Regions from separate parts of the Homo sapiens genome. Here regions 1 and 2 are each linked to region 3. Evidence: promoter capture Hi-C in 16 types of primary human blood cells and fetal thymus (Javierre and others, 2016). All regions are on one chromosome and are shown on one strand. The core of a region is centred on a gene start or on the middle of the fragment in contact, and the rest is flanking DNA. Distances in the headings are between cores, read along the strand shown. Region 1 has its middle 7.2 kb from the start of OR6T1. Region 2 overlaps OR10G8 (olfactory receptor family 10 subfamily G member 8). Region 3 holds the start of OR8B12 (olfactory receptor family 8 subfamily B member 12).

Region 1 (3,020 bases), core at 251-2,750, 590 kb after region 3:
GGAATCATTGAGGAGCAGGTTGTTCAGTTTCCATGAAGTTGTGTGGTTTTGAGTGAGATTCTTACTCTTGAGTTCTAATTTGATTGTGCTGTGGTCTGAGAGACAGTTCGTTATGATTTCAGGGTTTTTTTTTTTTTTTGCATTTGCTGAGGAGTGATTTTCTTCCAATTGTGTAATCAGTTTTAGAGTAAGTGCCACGTGGTGCCAAGAAGAATGTGTATTATGTTGTTTTGGGGTGGAAAGATCTGTAGATATATATCAGGTCCACTTGATCCAGAGTTGAGTTCAAGGTCTGAAGGTCTTTGTTAATTTTCTGTCTCAATGATCTGTCTAATATTGACAGTATGGCGTTAAAGTCTCCCACTTTTATTGTGTGAGAGTCTAAGTCTCTTTTTAGGTCTCTAAAAACATGTTTTTTGAATATAGGTGCTCCTGTATTGGGTGCATATATATTTAGGATAGTTAGCTCTTCTTATTGAATTGACCCCTATATCAATATGTAATGCTCTTATTCGTCACTTCTAACTTTTTTTAAGTTGCTAATAGTTCTGGGAGTGTTGTGGCAAAATCAATAATACACTATTTTTTAATGTTTATGTTACTCATGTAACAAATAAAGGTATATTTTGATGGCAAAAAGGAAAAGATAAGAAACATTCCACAAGAGCATTTAAACAGCCAATAAGTTATCTTGTTTAGGAGAAGAGATTCAAGAAAAGGATCTGGAATGCTACATACTTTATGTAATTCAACACATATTCTCGATTTGGGTAACATCTTAGAATAATTTAATGCTGCAGTTTAGTTTTTGAGGTAACTCAGTTAATCAGTAGACATTTCAGTTTTTCCTAACCCATTCATATGGATTAACCATATTAAGTAGGCATGTAAAAAATGTTTAAAGAAAATTTTTAAAAATCCACTTTTTAAAAAATAACAATGATACCAAACCCCTCTCAGATTAATATCCTTTTTTTTTTTTTCCTAAGATGAAGTATTGTCACATAGGGGCATTATTTCTCAAGATGAATGTAGATATCATTAGATGTGTTAATGAGCACTCTATTTTGAACTCATTTCTTGTTTCTTGGCTGTTCTATAGGGGAAGCTTTCAGAACAAGTAGGACACCAAAATATCCTCTGGATAAGATGATTATTGTCATAGTTCACAGAAGTCCCTCCTCATTGGCATTTATATTATTTAAGCTTCAGTGAAGGAAACGGAAATGATTTTAGCTATTTTAAGCAAGAAAGAATAGAGAATTAAGTGCTTACAAAATCACCAGGTGTGCTTAGGAAGTGAGTTTTAGACTAGAACTCCAGGATTGACTCCCAGTTCTGTAGCAAGTTGACCCAGCAGGAAAGGTAGAATAAAGGTGGAAATAGTGTGCCCATAGTGCCCAGACCTGTATTTGACACTCTTAAGGCACACTTTATCTAATTCCTGAAAAGGACAGCAAGGCTGGCTCTTCACTGACCCCCTTTCCCCACAGAACATGGATAGTTTTTATTGAACTTACCATTCTATCATATTTAAGAAGACAAGGTTTGGAAATCCTAGAATGACTGAAAACTTTCTTTACACAGATAATTCTCATCAGTGTAACATTGTCCATTATCTATTTTAAGCCATAATATCTTTAGCATATGATGTCCTAAGAGTAGCATAAAATGGCTTCTAGGGAAGGAGAAAAAAACATAATTTAGTGCAAATAAAAATCCCTACTACACATTTTGACATAACTTCACATTTTAAAATTCCAATCAAGGTTAGACAATCATTAATAAAGCTTTTAAATATTCTTTAGATTTTTATTGAATCTCTTTTAATCCAACATTTTTCATTCATTTTACACTTCAGTGCATGCAAAATATTTCAATATAACCACGTCTAGAAAGGTAAACTCATAACAGTTTACAGTATGGTTTTGATGAACTACAAGTTCAACATTTTGGTGGGAAAGGGGTGAAGTACGCAGATAATTTGATAAGTAGATACTTTGAGCTTATTGAATGTATATAAATGAGAAGATAATTTTTATTTGAACTTCTTGATAATGAGCAAGATTCAAATATTTTTTCTCATCTCCGTTGATCACCTGGGTGCAAATTATACACAATTATTTCTCTTAAAGATCCTATGAAACCCATTTTACAGATGAAGAAACTGAAGCTAGGAATTTAAGTAACTTACCCAAGTTCATGCCAAGTATTATATACCATAATTAGTATGTGACTCAATGTTCAATGCTCATTGAAAAAAAAAAAGATTGGATTTTCAAATTAACACTGATCATATATATATATTCAAATATATCCATATATATATGGATATATATACGGATAAATATATATCCATATATATATGGATAAATATATATGGATATATATACGGATAAATATATATCCATATATATATGGATAAATATATATGGATATATTTGTTATAATTTCATTACATCGTCAAGATACCCAAGGCCTCACTGAGTCACTACCTAGCTTAAGAGAATTTCTTAAAGTTCAAATACAGTAACAAGTTTTCTACTACTTCTGTACACAAGAAGTAGCTCTATCTTTTTTTGAAGAAGTACAGTTCATACTCTATGACAAATCTCAAACGTCTCACCCCCTAAAGCCTTGAAGGACTAATTACATTAGTTTACTTTTAGAGAACTTTGGTCAAAGTTATTCCCTTTTGAGATTTCCATTCAAAGCAAGTTAAAGTAAATTTTAATTGATTGGAGGTACAAAGAAATAATCATGCAAATTTATAGTAACTTCTCTTTCAACACTGAGAAGGAGTTTTGCTTGGTATTACTTGAAGCATAAAGAACTGCAGATTCAAGAAGCCTTCTGTGTGCTCCATTGAACATAAACAGGATCCTGATAGAACTTTTGAGTGCACATTCCTCAAACTGGCCAGGGGAAGAAGCCTAAGAAATGCAGTATTGGAACAGGTAAAGGAGATAACTTATATCACCTCCTATGTCAGGCAACTTCATATATCCAAAATTTATTTT
Region 2 (3,079 bases), core at 192-2,691, 510 kb after region 3:
GGTGGGAATGTAAACTAGTACAACCTCTATGGAAAACAGTGTGGAGATTTCTCAAAGAACTAAAAATAGAATTAACATTTAATCTAGCAGTTCCACTACTGGGTATCTACCCAAAGGAAAAGAATTCATTACATCCAAAAGATACCTGCCCCTGTATGTTTTTCACAGCACTATTCACAAGAGCTAAGATATGTAATCTTCCCTAGTGTCTATTTGCTCTGAGAATGTGCTACTTTGTCTTTCAGCTTCAACAGAGCTTTCTTCACCTCCTTGTTCCTCAGGGTGTACACAACAGGGTTGAGAAGGGGCGTCAGCACAGTGTAGAAAACGGCCACAACTCCATCCACAGCTTTCCTGGAGCCTGGCCTCAGGTAAATGAAAAGACCAGGGCCAAAGAAGCAAAGGACCACGATACAGTGGGAGGCACAGGTCTGAAAGGCTCTGTGCTTCCCCTCTGAGGTGCGGATCCGCAGGATGGAACAGACGATGGACACATAGGACAGCACTATCAGGACAAAGCAGCCCGAGGCCACTATTCCAACAGTCACAAAAATGACAGTCTCTATGGCTGAGGTGTCTGCACAGGCCAGTTTCAGGATGGGCGGTGCATCACACAAATAGTGCTGGATCCAGTTGGGTCCACAGTAGGGCAAATGGAAAGTCAATATGGCCTGGACAGCAGAGTGCAGAGAGCCACTGAGCCAAGTGCTGGTGGCCAGAAGAGTACACGAGCGCCCAGTCATCATGCTGGTGTACCTGAGCGGGTAACTGATGGCCAGGTAGCGATCACAGGACATGACCCTGTAGAGGAAACACTCGGTGCCCCCTAGGAAGTGAAAGAAATAGAGCTGAGCCATGCAGCTGTGGAAGGAGATAGCCCTGCCACTTGGGAACACCAAAGTCATCAGCAATTTGGGCACCGTGACAGTGGAGAACCACATGTCAATGAACGACAGGTTGGTGAGGAAGTAGTACATGGTGGTGTGGAGGTGAGAATCCACCCTGATCACCAGCAGGATGAGGAGGTTCCCCAGCACAGTGAGCACGTAAACCACCAGGAAGACTCCAAAGAGGGGGGCGTCCAGCGCTGGGGCATGGGGAAGGCCCATGAGGATGAACGCTGTCAGTAGGCTGGCGTTGGACATTTCTTCTCACCCTTGGTCTCTCTCCCTCTGGGAATATAAAGAGCACCCAGCATTTAGCACTTAATTGAGAAATGAGAATCCATTCTCTGTGTGGAAACTGCATCAAGCAGGTAGATAATTCTGGAGTTATTGTGGACTTTGCTTGTTAACAAAGCTTCCTTCATAAACTAATGAAGTGATTTCCTAGTCTTTCTCTGTCTCACATACACACACACAGAGACATATGCGGAAGAAATTAGGAGAAACGCATTGTCTTAGATTTTAATAGGTGTATAAATTACCACAAACTTAACTGGCTTAAAACATGCAAATTTATTGTCTCGCCCTCTCTGTGGGTCAGGTCAGCTGGGCCCTCTGTTTAGCTCTCATCAGGTTTTAATCAACATATCACCAAGGCCTGCAATCTCATCTGAGGTTGGGGATCATTCTCCAAGCTTCTTGTGGTTGTTGGCACGATTCGGTTCCTTGCAGTTTTAGGACTCAGGTTCCAGTTTCCTTGCTGTTTGTTGGCAGGACACGTAACTCTCAACTTACTGAGGTCACCCTAGGTCCAAGAAAGTCCTAGCTACTTGGCCTTCTTAAAACACCACAGGTTACTTCTTCAAAACCAACGAGACAGACTCTCTCCAGTTTGCTATGGCAAAGTATTACATAATGTTATGTAATGCAGTCACGGGGGTGATATTCCATCATATTAACAGGTCCCAGGCATACTCAAAGGAAGGTTATTAAATGGAAAGCATATACTAGACAGCAGGAATCTTGAAGGCTACTGCAAATTCTACCTACCACATTCATTTTTGCTTCCTTGCTCATGGGAAAACTTAAAAAAAAACACCAAGAATTTAATTGTTAGTGGCTGGGAATATTTGAAAACTGAACAGTTCAGCTAAATCATTTTCTAGTTTCCTCATATGTTATTTGACATTACTAACATCACCTACCTCACTGAGAAGTTATAAGCATTAAATAAGATGATACATATAAAGTACTAAGTACTGTGCCTGGCAGGTAGTAACTGCTCAATAAATGACAGTGAGTCTTATCACATTATGCCTTGCAGCAGTATTACAGAATTTCCAGTTTTGGTCTTAGGAAGAAAGAGAGTACATATATTCTTTCAGTGTTTTCAGAGAGTCCTTCTGAATCTAAGAGCTAGGTCTTCTTGGACTATTTTGTGCCTGATACTGTTACTGATGTCCTCACTACTGCCTGCTTTCAAAGGGCTTGTCCTTGGTCTCTCAGAGCAGGTAAGAATCTCAGCGCAACTCCATAATGGGATTCCCACGACCTCCCAAATGATCCAGAGAGCATCAAGGTTCATGCATAACTGTCCCCTGCCCCCATTTCTGCTACCCTAGAACACTTCCTATGTGGTTCTGAGAACATGGCATTCATATGTGCTCTCCCAAACACAATCCACTGGGTAGAGGCCAGCTGTCTTTCATACTCCTTCTACCCTAGGTTTCTAAATATATTCTAATATTGGCTTTGTTAGATATCATGTGTTGCCTCCACCATCTTCCTTTACTCCTCATTCTCATAAATCCAGGTAATGAATGATCTCACAAAGAAGACAATTCCATCAAGTCTCTCTCTTAATTAAGACCTAGAATCTGAGACAGGAAAAACGGGACCAATGTAAGAAGAGGGATCTATGCCACCTTGATGTCAAGAGAAGCTGGGATTCTGTATAATGGAAATCAGGGCCAAAATAAGGTTCTTTGCTTAATATTAATATTAATACAAAATATTGTCTTAGTTCAGGAGTCTTACTAATTGTTCAGTGGGCAAATACTATGAAACTTGTTCACCAGTGTGAGAGAAGCCATGATCTCTGCCCTTCAGAAATCCCAGAGAAGATACCTCCAGGGAATGTGGCTTAAGCTAGTTTAAAGAAAGGTTTTTGAAATATGTAAATAAATAGCAGAAAG
Region 3 (3,475 bases), core at 4-2,503:
GAATAAGGGTACTATGTCAGGTACTAAATTATTGGGTATTCAAGAAATGGTAATGACAATCATTTTTTTCACAATGATTTTCTCTTAATAGTACAGGATACATGTTAGTAGAAAGCCAAATCAAGCAATTCCAAGAGATAAACAAACATTTCTTCTTCTCTAGGGAAACTAATTGCTAAGCAAGTGGTCTTGAGGGAGTCTCTATCTTAATGGCCAGATCATTGAGGTCTGTAATCCAGAATAAAACTCTTTAGTCTTTTGTTATTCACTGGTCAGGAAAAAGCTTTGTCTCCTTCCTGGAAGCTGGAGAGGCCTTTGGGCAAATGAACAATTGGAAGTCATGTCCTTCAGTGCAGGAAGTGTTATGAGATACATTAGAGGTTCTGATCCTTTGACCTGTACTGGGAAGAGAGGGCTTTGAGCTCAGATCTGTCATCTTGTCTTCACTAGGGTCATCTTCCTCCCCAGAATGTGAAAAAGAGGCAGTAGAGTATAGCATTTATGGCTCTAAAGGGAAGGAAGGTGAGTGCCTGCCCCGATGCTGGTCACTTATGTAACATGGTGATTTCAAGTGCAAGCCATTTGAGCCATACTGCCGAAATTCACCTTCTGGCTGCAGGTGGTTTGGGGACTTTTGTCTAGTTATGTCATCTTACTTGTTTCATCTGTAAAATGAAGATAATAATATTGCTACATGGCTCTTCAAACAGAACCTCTTATAGTAACCACTCAATAAGTGTCAGCTTTAAAAAATTATTAAATGTACAGCCACTTGAGCTAAGAGATCTTGGAAAAGCATGAGCTCACCTACTTAATCTGACAGTGTGGACCCAGAGGTGGAAGCTCTGAGCAGAGCCACTGTGGCTTCTGCATCTCAGGATTCCCTTCAGGGAAGAGGTCCAGGTTTTACCAAGTGAAGCAGAGACAGGAGAGGGAAAGATATAGAAAAGGGACTGACCTAAGGATCTAAAAGACATTTGGATTATTTTTGGTACCCCTTTCTTCAGCAGATCCAGCTCTCATTCTGCAGTTACAGTTGAGTCTCATATTACACTTTGGGAGTTATAATCACTCGGACTGTGAAGATAGACCCACAGTGAGTGGTAAAAACCTTCCTACCAAAGTTCAAATCTCTCTCCTTGGATTCCTTTTCTAAGAATGGGAGATAGAGACTAAGAATGTGGTGGTGATGTTTCTTTCTAAGTGGTCCTCTTCTCTTGTCCCCTCCGACTCTCCTGCCTGACCAAAAAGAATGGCAGCCAAAAACTCTTCTGTGACAGAGTTTATCCTCGAAGGCTTAACCCACCAGCCGGGACTGCGGATCCCCCTCTTCTTCCTGTTTCTGGGTTTCTACACGGTCACCGTGGTGGGGAACCTGGGCTTGATAACCCTGATTGGGCTGAACTCTCACCTGCACACTCCCATGTACTTCTTCCTTTTTAACCTCTCTTTAATAGATTTCTGTTTCTCCACTACCATCACTCCCAAAATGCTGATGAGTTTTGTCTCAAGGAAGAACATCATTTCCTTCACAGGGTGTATGACTCAGCTCTTCTTCTTCTGCTTCTTTGTCGTCTCTGAGTCCTTCATCCTGTCAGCGATGGCGTATGACCGCTACGTGGCCATCTGTAACCCACTGTTGTACACAGTCACCATGTCTTGCCAGGTGTGTTTGCTCCTTTTGTTGGGTGCCTATGGGATGGGGTTTGCTGGGGCCATGGCCCACACAGGAAGCATAATGAACCTGACCTTCTGTGCTGACAACCTTGTCAATCATTTCATGTGTGACATCCTTCCTCTCCTTGAGCTCTCCTGCAACAGCTCTTACATGAATGAGCTGGTGGTCTTTATTGTGGTGGCTGTTGACGTTGGAATGCCCATTGTCACTGTCTTTATTTCTTATGCCCTCATCCTCTCCAGCATTCTACACAACAGTTCTACAGAAGGCAGGTCCAAAGCCTTTAGTACTTGCAGTTCCCACATAATTGTAGTTTCTCTTTTCTTTGGTTCTGGTGCTTTCATGTATCTCAAACCCCTTTCCATCCTGCCCCTCGAGCAAGGGAAAGTGTCCTCCCTGTTCTATACCATAATAGTCCCCGTGTTAAACCCATTAATCTATAGCTTGAGGAACAAGGATGTCAAAGTTGCCCTGAGGAGAACTTTGGGCAGAAAAATCTTTTCTTAAGAAAGGATTAGTATTGGAGGAAGGAGATACAATGCTTTGCTTATTAGTGTGTGTTTTCAGTGAGATTCAAGTTCCATTTTTTTCCTGTCTTGTACAGAAAAAGAATTTTAAATCTTTACATTTGGATGAGTGTTAAGTGCAGACATATTCTCCCTGTCTCTGCTTCACCTAGTTATTCCAGGATTTCTTCATTTTATGCAAATTTTTCTATAATCATAGACCATTTAATCGTGAATTGGCCTTACACATTATTTAATCTAGTCTCTTCAATTAACATGTGTTGGAGACTCAGAAATACATATGTTGCTCAAGGACACACAACTACTTGGTGCCACAACTGGGAATGGAATCCAGGTCCTTGAATTCCAGGCTGCTTTTTTTTTCTTTATGTCATTTTTTCATGCTTCATTGCTGCCCTTGCAGATATCCTTTTAAAAGTAAGAAAACTTAACACATTAAAACCTAATTCTATTCATAGTAATTTAATGTGACCTCTCAATAAATAATTTTTAAATATTTCATTTTTTTTCAAGAGGATAGAAGATGAAACATTTTCTTAAGTTGGTCTTCACCAAATGAGAAGAGAATTGTGTCAAGTTTGTAGAATGTGACTGACATTGAGTTAAGATTGAGGTTGTGTGGAACCCTAGGAACCCAGTCTAGGGAATTAGGACTTCCATAGGATTAAGGGTTATAAAGATGCTGAGTAGAAATCATACATTCATTTGAAAACTTAAAGAATCAGAATGTAGAGCTTTTTCAAGGGTTAGTTTGGGTGTTTGAGCTGTGATGGAGAAATATGTGGCTTAGGATAATCAACTAAGGGTCTGGAAGTTTTCGAGGCGAAGTAAATAATGTTGAGAATCTAGTTAGTTATTAAAACAGCACTAAGCAGCTGATTATTAAAAGAGGCAATTTCCATTGAATTTTAAGGTACTGCAGACTGCACTCATATAAACATATGTGGTAAAAGATAATTCATCCAAGACTGGGTTGTAAACCCACAACATATAATGATAGTTATAGAACACGCCAGATCAATACACTTTGATCTAAATAATTTATTAGTAGCAAAGGAAGGTTCTTTGGATTAGCATTAACCATGTTAAGTGCTGGGGAGACACTTTGATTTCTGAGCTTTTCCTTGGGAATATTCTTTGGGAAAAAGGGAAGTTTAGATGAGGGTGTAGTTTTGTTCTTTGGTATGACACGAAGGGCTTGAAGTCATAAGACTGAGAGTGTGTGTGTGTGTACGTGTGTGTGTGTGTGTGGTGGGAAAGATTTTTCTTT

What was found. Contacts are between HindIII fragments. The CHiCAGO score rates a contact against its expected background, and 5 or more counts as called.
Region 1: a contact is called between a fragment that was not itself captured here and the fragment with the promoter of OR8B12 in region 3, in 1 of 17 cell types (erythroblasts). The highest score is 6.0, in erythroblasts.
Region 2: a contact is called between a fragment that was not itself captured here and the fragment with the promoter of OR8B12 in region 3, in 1 of 17 cell types (total B cells). The highest score is 6.5, in total B cells.

Annotation. Positions count from the first base shown.
Region 1 is chr11:123,949,529-123,952,548 of GRCh38, reverse strand. No RefSeq gene overlaps it. Among named protein-coding and RNA genes, the nearest start is that of OR6T1, 7.2 kb to the right of the region's middle. The HindIII fragment of the contact is 584 bases long and covers 1,209-1,792 here.
Region 2 is chr11:124,027,689-124,030,767 of GRCh38, reverse strand. OR10G8 (olfactory receptor family 10 subfamily G member 8) reads right to left here. Exons shown (of 2, transcript NM_001004464.2): 2 at 134-1,172. The coding sequence starts at 1,145. The coding sequence ends at 210. Among named protein-coding and RNA genes, the nearest start is that of OR10G8, 2.4 kb to the right of the region's middle. The HindIII fragment of the contact is 280 bases long and covers 1,302-1,581 here.
Region 3 is chr11:124,541,432-124,544,906 of GRCh38, reverse strand. OR8B12 (olfactory receptor family 8 subfamily B member 12) reads left to right here and starts at 1,253. Exons shown (of 1, transcript NM_001005195.1): 1 at 1,253-2,185. The coding sequence starts at 1,253. The coding sequence ends at 2,185. The HindIII fragment of the contact is 5,500 bases long and covers 286-3,475 here.